2 separate regions of the Homo sapiens genome follow, and region 1 is linked to region 2. The links are contacts of gene promoters, found by promoter capture Hi-C in human tissues and cell types (Jung and others, 2019). All regions are on one chromosome and are shown on one strand. Each heading gives the region's core, a stretch centred on a gene start or on the middle of the fragment in contact. The rest is flanking DNA. Distances are from core to core; before and after follow the strand shown.

Evidence for each region. The method cuts DNA at HindIII sites, captures the fragments that hold promoters and counts their contacts. A contact is called where the count stands out against the background at its distance.
Region 1: a fragment that was not itself captured here is called in contact with the fragment with the promoter of MST1 in region 2 in 1 of the 25 tissues and cell types used here (dorsolateral prefrontal cortex).

The regions. Positions count from the first base shown.
Region 1 is chr3:50,235,502-50,239,882 of GRCh38, forward strand. GNAI2 (G protein subunit alpha i2) reads left to right here and starts at 703. Exons shown (of 9, transcript NM_002070.4): 1 at 703-952. The coding sequence starts at 835. RefSeq lists enhancers at 1-581, 2,436-2,515, 3,024-3,633 and a silencer at 451-910. The HindIII fragment of the contact is 5,493 bases long and covers 386-4,381 here.
Region 2 is chr3:49,687,113-49,691,411 of GRCh38, forward strand. It overlaps MST1 (macrophage stimulating 1), which reads right to left and starts at 2,362. Exons shown (of 18, transcript NM_020998.4): 1 at 1,486-2,362; 2 at 638-785; 3 at 444-556; 4 at 252-366; 5 at 37-173. The coding sequence starts at 1,579. It overlaps RNF123 (ring finger protein 123), which reads left to right and starts at 2,445. Exons shown (of 39, transcript NM_022064.5): 1 at 2,445-2,494; 2 at 4,018-4,135. The coding sequence starts at 4,054. RefSeq lists enhancers at 1-199, 1,716-2,275. The HindIII fragment of the contact is 11,098 bases long and covers 7-4,299 here.

The DNA.
Region 1 (4,381 bases), core at 1,882-4,381, 550 kb after region 2:
TAGAGATGGGGTTTCACCATGTTGGCCAGGCTGGTCTAGAACTCCTGACCTCAAGTGATCTGCCCGCCTCGGCCTCCTAAAGTGCTGGGATTACTGGCGTGAGCCACTGCGCCCGGCCTTTTTTTTTCCTTTTTCGACTAGCTGCAACCCAGAGGGAGAAGGCGGTAAACCCGCCTTAAGACTGAGAAAACCGCAGTCCAGAAAGGCTCCCGAGTTCGTAGATCCCAAAACAAGTTTACTGGACTCATTAACTTTAACAAATGACAAAGACACGCCTCCTCCACCTAACTCGCCCAACTCGCAGAAGCTCAGAGGGCTGGTTCCTGCTCTGCCCTCGAGGGCACCGGATCCCCACCCTCGGGTTAACAGATCCGCCCTCCCGGCTGTCCAGCAACAGAGCTCCCGGCGCTCCGCACCCAATCACAGCCCGGTCCCGCCTGCAGCCCGCCCAGTGCCGGGTCCCGGGGTTTGGAACCACCCCTATTGCCTTTTCTCCGCGTGGCCCCGCCTGCAGCCCAGGCCCGAGCCTGGGCTGCGCCTAACTTCCCCCTTCGCTCCGCCCTCGAGCCAATCAACAGCCTCTAATCTCCTCTGGCCCCGCCTGCAAGCCCGCCCCGGCCCAGTCACAGGCTTGGTTCGCCCAGGCCCCACCCCCGGCCCGCCCCGCCGTCGGTGCGCGGCGGTAGGGAAGGCGCCTCCCGCAGTCGCTCGGAACTGCCGACCCGAGTGCTTCCCGCAGAGGGCTGGTGGTGGGAGCGGAGTGGGTCGGGCGGGGCCGAGCCGGGCCGTGGGCCGTGTGGGGGCCGGGCGGCGGCCGGGCCGGCGGACGGCGGGATGGGCTGCACCGTGAGCGCCGAGGACAAGGCGGCGGCCGAGCGCTCTAAGATGATCGACAAGAACCTGCGGGAGGACGGAGAGAAGGCGGCGCGGGAGGTGAAGTTGCTGCTGTTGGGTGAGGCCGCGTCCCGCACTGGGATCCTTGATTCCCAGCTCGAATCCCCAGACAAGGACTTTGACCTCCCAGACTAGGGCTTCAAACTCCCAGACCCGGGCTGTCTGGGACCCCACACCTGGGCCAGGACCAGGGTTGAAAACTCTAGATTGGACTAGACCTTTGATCCTGCCCAGACTCTAGACCAGACCCCTGTCTCATCCCAGACCCCAGACCTCCAAATCCAGTCAACAGTGCCCCAACACCCGCGGTCCAGTGCCCTGCTTGGCCATCCCCCCTTGCTAACTAGCTTCACAGAACTTCAGAGCCCCGCCATCCTTCCCTACACTTTGCCCAAACCCCCAGGATGCCCGCCACTTGTTCCCCAACCCTCAGGCTCCGCTTGTTTTCCTCACCTGCGCCTTTTATTCCTATTGGGCATGAGCATCCCGCGGGGCCCCTGCCAGGCCCCCCACCCACTCCCTCCTTCTCCTTCTGTGCCCCATCCCTAGTCTGGAATCTGTATCCTCCACCTGTGCACTCTGACCCAAGGAACCTCTCGAGTGGGAAACTGCTCTTGAGCCCCATCTCCAGCTGGAACCCCTTCAGCGAGCCCTGCTCCCTGCTTCCTGCCCTCCAGATCCTTCTCTGCAGGCATCACTCCCGAAACCCTCTGCTGATCCTCCCCTAAGTCCTCTTACACTCTGGCCTTCCCCAGATCCCTCCACCCTTCCTGCACCAAGTGGGCTGGGCTAGGAGGCGGGAGCCCTGGGTTGGAGAGGGCCTAGGCTGCCTTATGCAGAACCCCCACGGGGCTGGATTGAGGCTCCACTGGTCACGCTGGGGGAGGGGGCCAGGCCTCAGGCTTCCCAAGGAGGCTCTATGTTTTCCAGTTTCGAAGGCCAGTCTGGGAAGTAGGAGAGAGAGTGGAGGAGTTAGGGTTGTGGCCGCCTCCAAGGCCAGAAAAGATGGTGGCTGCTAGAGGAGTGGGGGGAAGTGGAAGTGGTGAGACAGCCGACATATTGCTGCCCCTGCGGGTGAGCCCAGGAGATCTGCTAGTAGGTGCTGGGCTGCCCACACCCCTTCTGGGCTGCAAGGCCTGGGATGTAGCCTCTGAGAGTTGGGGGGCTTGTTGGATCTTGGGACCCTGTGAAGGGGGATGGTGGACTAGCTGAATGAGGAGTTGAGGGGCCAGCTGGGGGTGGGCCAGGGTGCCTCTGAGCATCCCAGCTGGCCTTTTGCAAAGACGGTGGGCCTACTGGCTGTCCCCATCCAGCTTCCCACTGGAAGTAGGTGTGGTGCCCAGTGGCAGTCTAATTTTGATTTGGGGGTTTTAGAGTTGGGGGGAGGGAGGCCCTTGCAACAGCGCAGCACCGTTGTAGGCTGAGAAGTGCATGGGGGGGTGTGGCCCCTCGACTTCAGAACTGTCATAGGGCTCCCAGGCTGTGAAAAGCAGGGCTTTTCGTGCTGGACCTGTGGCCGAGGAACAGCATGTATGTCCATTATGGGCCATCTGTTGACTGTCCCTGCGGACCCGGCCTCCGGGGCACAGCCTTGGAGGTTTCAAAATGGCATCCGCTTCGCTGCTGCCTCAGGGAGGAAGAGAAGGGGCGGGAAGGGGCGGCGGCCCAGCCTCCTGGGCTGCTTTGCGTTGGGCGCTTGCCTCTTCCTGTCTCTGCTGTGAGTGCGGCAGCGGCAGTGAGTGGGTGTCGACGCGGCGGAATGCCCGTCGCTGCTGCTGCTGCTGCCCGACGGGCCTGGGGAGGGCACTTCCGGTACCGCTGCCTCCCAGTGCCCAGCCAGGAGTCTCTAGACAGCCTCTCCCCAGGCGATTGCAGTTACTGTGGTGGCCGAGGAAATGCAAGACTGGACCATAGAGCTGGGGGAACGCAGGGCTTCTGGCTAGTTTTGTGTCCCGACACCAGAAGGGTCCCCCATCCCACCAGGCCTGCTCCTTGGAGCCCAGCTCACCTTTTGGGCTAAGGCAAGTGAGACCTGGTAACTCCTCCCACACTGGGCTGGCAGCAGCCAGGGGTGCAGGGTCTGGCTTAGCACTTTCTAGCCTGGGAAGTTCACCCTGGGGTCCTGGCCTTCTGGCCTTTGCTTACTCTGTGAAATGGGCTTCCTGGGTTTTGGCCAAAGGAGTGCCCCAGGTCAGGATGGGGAGGGAGAACAAGAGCCTCCTGGTGGTTCTTGTTGGGGATGTAGGTTGGGAGTAAAGACCCTGCAGTGTGCTGCAAAGGGCTCTGACCAAGCTCTGCTTGATATTGATGACCCAGTCTGCCATGGCTGCCTGGGGAGGGATCCTGGCTTGAGCCATGCCTTTCCCATCCAGGTGCAAGGTGGTGATGGGAGCCCAGCTGTGGTAAGTTCAGAGTTCTGGGCGCCTGTCCCATGTAGCGGGAGACTTTGTCCAGGCAACGGGACTCAGGTTGGGCAACTGCCAGCCTTCCCTCCCAGCCAGAACCACGCCTGCTGCCCCGCCCGCACACCGCCTCCCTCCCATCTTGGGTAGCCCTGCCAGCAGGCAGGCACAGTCCTTGTCACCAGGGCAGAGGCTGATGTGGTACACACAGGCAAGAGAGTATTTCCTGGCAACTTTGTAGGGGGAGCAGATACCAGTCCTATTCTAGGGATGCTCCCCACTCCTACCCAGCTCAACGTGACTGATCAGCTAGGCCCAGGTGGAATCTGGGACCCTGGTCTGGGCTCTTAAGGGAAAGGAAGCCAGAGTGTATGTGAGGGGGGAGAGTCTCTGATTTGGGATGGGCCTGTGTGGACAGCTTCACAAAAAAAGGAGACAGTGTCCACCATTGGCTCCATAAAGGCTTCAGAATGTAAACAGAGCAGTTCTCTCTTGCCCCTGGAACTTTGTGTGTGTTGTTCCCTACTTGATTGTTCTTTAAAACTTTACTCTGGGATCACCTCCCAGGATCCTTCCTGGACATCCTCCCTCGACCAAGGCTGGTGAAACATCTGGCTCCCAGCGCTGTTGCTTCCCCCCTCAGATGCCTGGAGACTGCAGGGCAGGGCTAAGTCCTCTTCATTTCTGTGCCCAGCATGGAGCCTGGCATCTACTGGGTGCTTCTCATCTGTTTGTTGAATGAAGGAAGTATCCTCTGAACCTGATTTTGGGTAGATGGTGGAGTAAACTGAGCGGCAGTTTGCATACTGTGGGCAGGTGGCAAGGGCCCACAGGCCCACCACAGGATTGGTGACCAGCATTGAGGGGACACTGAGAAAAGTTCTTCAGGCTGTTTCTTCCCAGCCCCGCCACAGGCTATGCTGGCACCTGAGAGAGTTCTTATCCCACCCTGTGCGGAACTCCTGCTGAGCAGAGTGGCTTTGTATTCTTCCTTCCAACTCAGGCTGTTGGTGCACTGCTAGAGGGCTGCTGTCTCTGACACTGCAGTAGCCACAGTCGAGCTTGAGCTGGCTGGTCCAGCAGGG
Region 2 (4,299 bases), core at 1,112-3,611:
CCCTCCACTCTCCCAGCTTGACCCGGCGCCGCTTACCCTCCCGGCAGGATTTGATGCCGCAGCTCTGGAAGCGCACAGCAGGGTCTGTTGTGTAGCACCAAGGACCTCCGGGGTCGCCATCAGGGTTACGGCAGAAGTTCTCTTCCAGGCCATTCCGGAGAGTGGGCGTGTACCTGAGGGCCCAGAGCATCACTATAGTGTGTGCTGGGGGAAGGCCCCAGGCCGGGACGGAGGGAAGGTGTTTGTCTCACTTGTGATCATTTGGGAACTTGTGGCTCCAAGCCTGGCAGGGCAGGCCACCCACGGTCGTGGCCATGGTGCCCCGGTACCCAACCCCATTGTTCATGATGCAGGTCCGTACGTAGTCTGGGAGCAAGAGACAGAAGATCAACTTGGGCTGAGGTCCCCTGTCTCCCACCCTGCCCCTCTCCACCCCCACTTGCCTTTCTTCTGGAAGAGGTCACAGCGCCCAGAACGCCGCAGCCTCGTGTGGGGCGAGTGTTGAGTCCATGGCAGCAGTTGGCAACCATGGCTGCTCACGTTGTAGTGGAAGGCCCTGGAGAGAAGAAGGCACAGGGTAACGCCACAGCCCAGGCTTCCCTGCCCCCAGTCTTATCTAGGCCCAGTGGCCACTCACCGGCAGTCCATTAAGGGCCCACAGCGACCAGCACACTCTTCAGCATCTGCCACATCCTCCTGCCAAGGCCCGGGCACCACCGCATGTAGCAGGTGCTGTAGCTCTGTGCCCCGGAGCACTTGGAAGTCATTCAATGGCGAGCGCTGCCCTGCAGAGTAGGCATGAGTGGGTGCAGGTCAGGTGGGCATACATGTCAGTAATGTGTATTGGCATGTCCACACTTTGTTCATTCAGGGGATCAAAGCTACAAGGCTTCTGGGATGGACCCTGTATGCACTTTCAAGGGCCAGTCTAGCCCCCTGCACAGATACTTGTGAAAAAAATTTCCCCTGGGAAGCAGGCCCAGACTTGGTAGTTATCACCGGTGCCTCTGTTTAGTGGCCCAGGCACCGGGCTCAGATCTAACACATACGCTCTGTGAGAGCAGTGGGTGATGAAGCTTGCCCCACCTCATCTCTCAAATGAGAATGCTAAGGCTCAGAGCCATCACATTACCCAGCCAGGGGCCCTGGCTAGGCATTCAGACTCCAAATCTGGGCTCTCACCTGCACAAAGGCATATGCTAGGTTAGAGGGGTAGATCAGGCTCAGGAGGGGTCACTGCCTGCTGTGTGCGTGCATCTGTGTGGTCCTGACACTGCTTCAGTGCTAGAGCAGACGTGCTAATAGAGGCCTAAGTGGGCAATGTCTATGTGTTCCTAGGGCTTCCCAGCTGTGCTCAAGAGGGCAAGGTCACTGCCCCATGCCCACTGAGCCTCTGGCTCCCCGACTTTTTTCTCATCCTAGAATAGGAGAATGGGGCCAACCCCCTCCTGAAGGCAGATGGGGATCAGGGTTGGGGGCACTTACCAGGGACCCCTAAGCATTGAGTCAGAAGCAGCAGGAGTGGGAGCCACCCCATCCTTCTGGCTGGAGGCTGCACTGTGACCCACCACAGCCCCATCCGGGAAGTTGTGAAACCTGTCCCTACGGGATTGGGTGGCTCTGGCTCCACACGTCAGCTCAGGGCCTGCTGGACCCTGACCTGAGACCTGGTGACAGGAGCCATGAGGGGCCAGGCCTCAGGTCCCATAGGTCAGTTGCAAGGGCCTAGTACAGCTTAGTGGACAGGTGTTAGGAAGGTTTGGTGGGGACACTTGAGGTGCCCTGGGGTTGGGGTGAAACCCCTCTGCAGCCTAGTCAGCCCAAGGGCATTGTGAAAGTGAGAGCTGCCAGAGGTCTGGGCTCCAGCCCCTGGGTGACATTAAACTTTTCTGAATTTCGGTTTTTCCCTGTAAATTGGGGAAAATTACTTGCCCCAGCTTCAACACTGCCTCCCCTCCACCCTTTTGCTGCTGCCTTATCAGGCCCCAGCTGTAGGCAGGTCAGCCCACACCCGGCGGCAGAGCCCAGAGAGGCTCGCTCATCTCAGCCGCCAGAAGTGTCATCCCAGGGAAGGTGAGCGAGGCTGTCCACTAGGACTAAATAGGGGTGGAGGTAACAGGTAGCAGGGACTCTGGCAGGAACGGCCTTTCAGACGTTTTAAGGACCGTCTGAGCGGGGCCTCTAAGTATGGGTAGGAGACAGGCGGCCTAGGGATTCCGGTTAGCATGTCGCGTTCTGCCGCAGCAGGGCTGGGAGCATCCCCAGAGCAGGCGGAGGTCGGAGGTGGTGAGGCCTTTCGGCGAAGCTGAGGCCTGGAACAACCCGGTGGGAAGCCATGGAGGGGGTCCCCTAGCGGAGGCTGGGCGCGGGCCAGTGCGCGTGCGCGGCTGGAGGCTCAGCGCGCAAGCGTGCGCGTGATTTGGCCCTGAACGGACGCCGTAGCCAAGAGGTTGGGCGGATGTTGTGAGCCGGGTCGCTGCGGCCGAGGCTCCGGGTGAGTGAGGGGCGGCAGGGCTCTGAGCCTGGCGGGTTCCGGCTATTCCCTTCGCGGTCCGGGCTAGTCCAGTGCGAGGGCACCTGCAGCGCAGGGATCTGGGTGCGAAACTCCGAGCGGAAGCTGGTCTGGCAGGTCCTGTGGAGCTTGGGGCCAGGCGGGGGCGACTTGGGGGAGCCATGCGCCGCCCTCGCCGTCCTTGGGCTCCCAGACGGAGTAGGTTCAGTTCTGAGTCCGGATACCCCGGCGGGGTTGGACGGGATAGCCGTGACAGGGAGTCCCCGGGCGGGGACAAGGTCCGCCTCTCACCTGGGTCCTCAGCAACTGACTCCCGGAGCCCACTCCGGGTGTCTGGAAGGTCTGCTCATCAAATGAATGACTGAGTTTAATCAGATCTTCAACTACTCTGGTAGTGAAGGGGCACCGATCATGGACGCCCACCGAGGGCCCGAGGTCGGGAAAATCACCTTCCCGAGGAGCAGGCGTGGTGCAGACCCACAAGGGTTTGTGGCGGGAGTAGAGGGTCTGTTTGGGGTGAGATAAGAGACTGAACTGCAGAGTAGGGAGTGCTGGCTAAGGCAGTGCTGCAGAGCGAAACTCTAGACCTGCGCTGTCTAATAGAACTTTATATGATGGTGGGAACGTTCTACCTTTGTGCTGTCCAACAGAGTAACCATTAGCCACATGTGGTCATTGAACTCTTGAAATGTGGCTAAGGCAACTGAGAAATCGAATTGTTAATTTTTAAAACTTTAAATTTAAGTAACCTCATGTGGATGACGGCTGCTGTGTTGGACAGCACCGCTACACATCAGTGAGGCCAGCACCAGGGACTCAGTGCAGGTTCTGGAGCAGCTGCAGCAGCAACATGATGTGAGGGATAGATGCACTAGGAGGACCAATGGAGTTTGCCATGAGGGCTGGGCAAGGGTGGTGCTTGGATGAGGTGGGAGGCCACATGTGTGAGTGGGAATGGTGAAACTATCAGGACCATGGATAAAAGAAGGGAGGAACCCAGGGCTGAGGAAAGAGGCTCCAGCCTTGTGGGGAGTAAGTGGGACTTATGGCTAGAGATGACCAGACCAGTGGTGGTCTGCACTTGGGGGAATGTGTAGGATTGTCGCTTCTGGTTGTGAGCTGGACTCAGTATGGCTTACAACTGAGATGGATACAGGGGCTCTGCCCCTAGGACACCTCACTTTGGACATTTTGGTCTGATTTCCACAGAGCTGAGACATTTTGTTATGGTTCGGCAAAAATATATCTAGTACCTGCTCTCTGCCCAGCCCTGTGCTGGGCACAGGGACACTGGAGAACAAGAAGTGGTCCCTGTTACATGGGCCTAGACCCTGGCTACCCTCCCTGTGTAGGAAGCTGGGAGCCCCTGCATTCCCCTGCCCTATGTGTTAGTGTGCATGCCCCTGGCCTCACCTGCTCCCAAGCCTTCCTGCCATGGCAGGACTGAGGTCAGGTGTGGGGGCCCCTGGCTGGCCCTGAGTAGACAGGCTCTGTGTCTGGCTCAGCCCCCAGGACCACTGGCTGCCCATGAGAGATGAAGGATGGCATCCAAGGGGGCCGGCATGTCTTTCTCCCGCAAGAGCTATAGGCTGACCTCAGATGCTGAGAAATCCAGGGTCACAGGTAAGAGCTGGCAGGGAAGGAAGGAGGCTCCTCTTGTTGGGAGGAGAAGGAAGGGACAAAGGCCTCAGGCCTTGCTGCACCTGTGGCTGGCCTAGGACCAGAAGTCTCTGGGGCCAGCAGGGGCCAGGAGCTGCACTGATCATGTGGCCCTTTTCTCCCTTCTG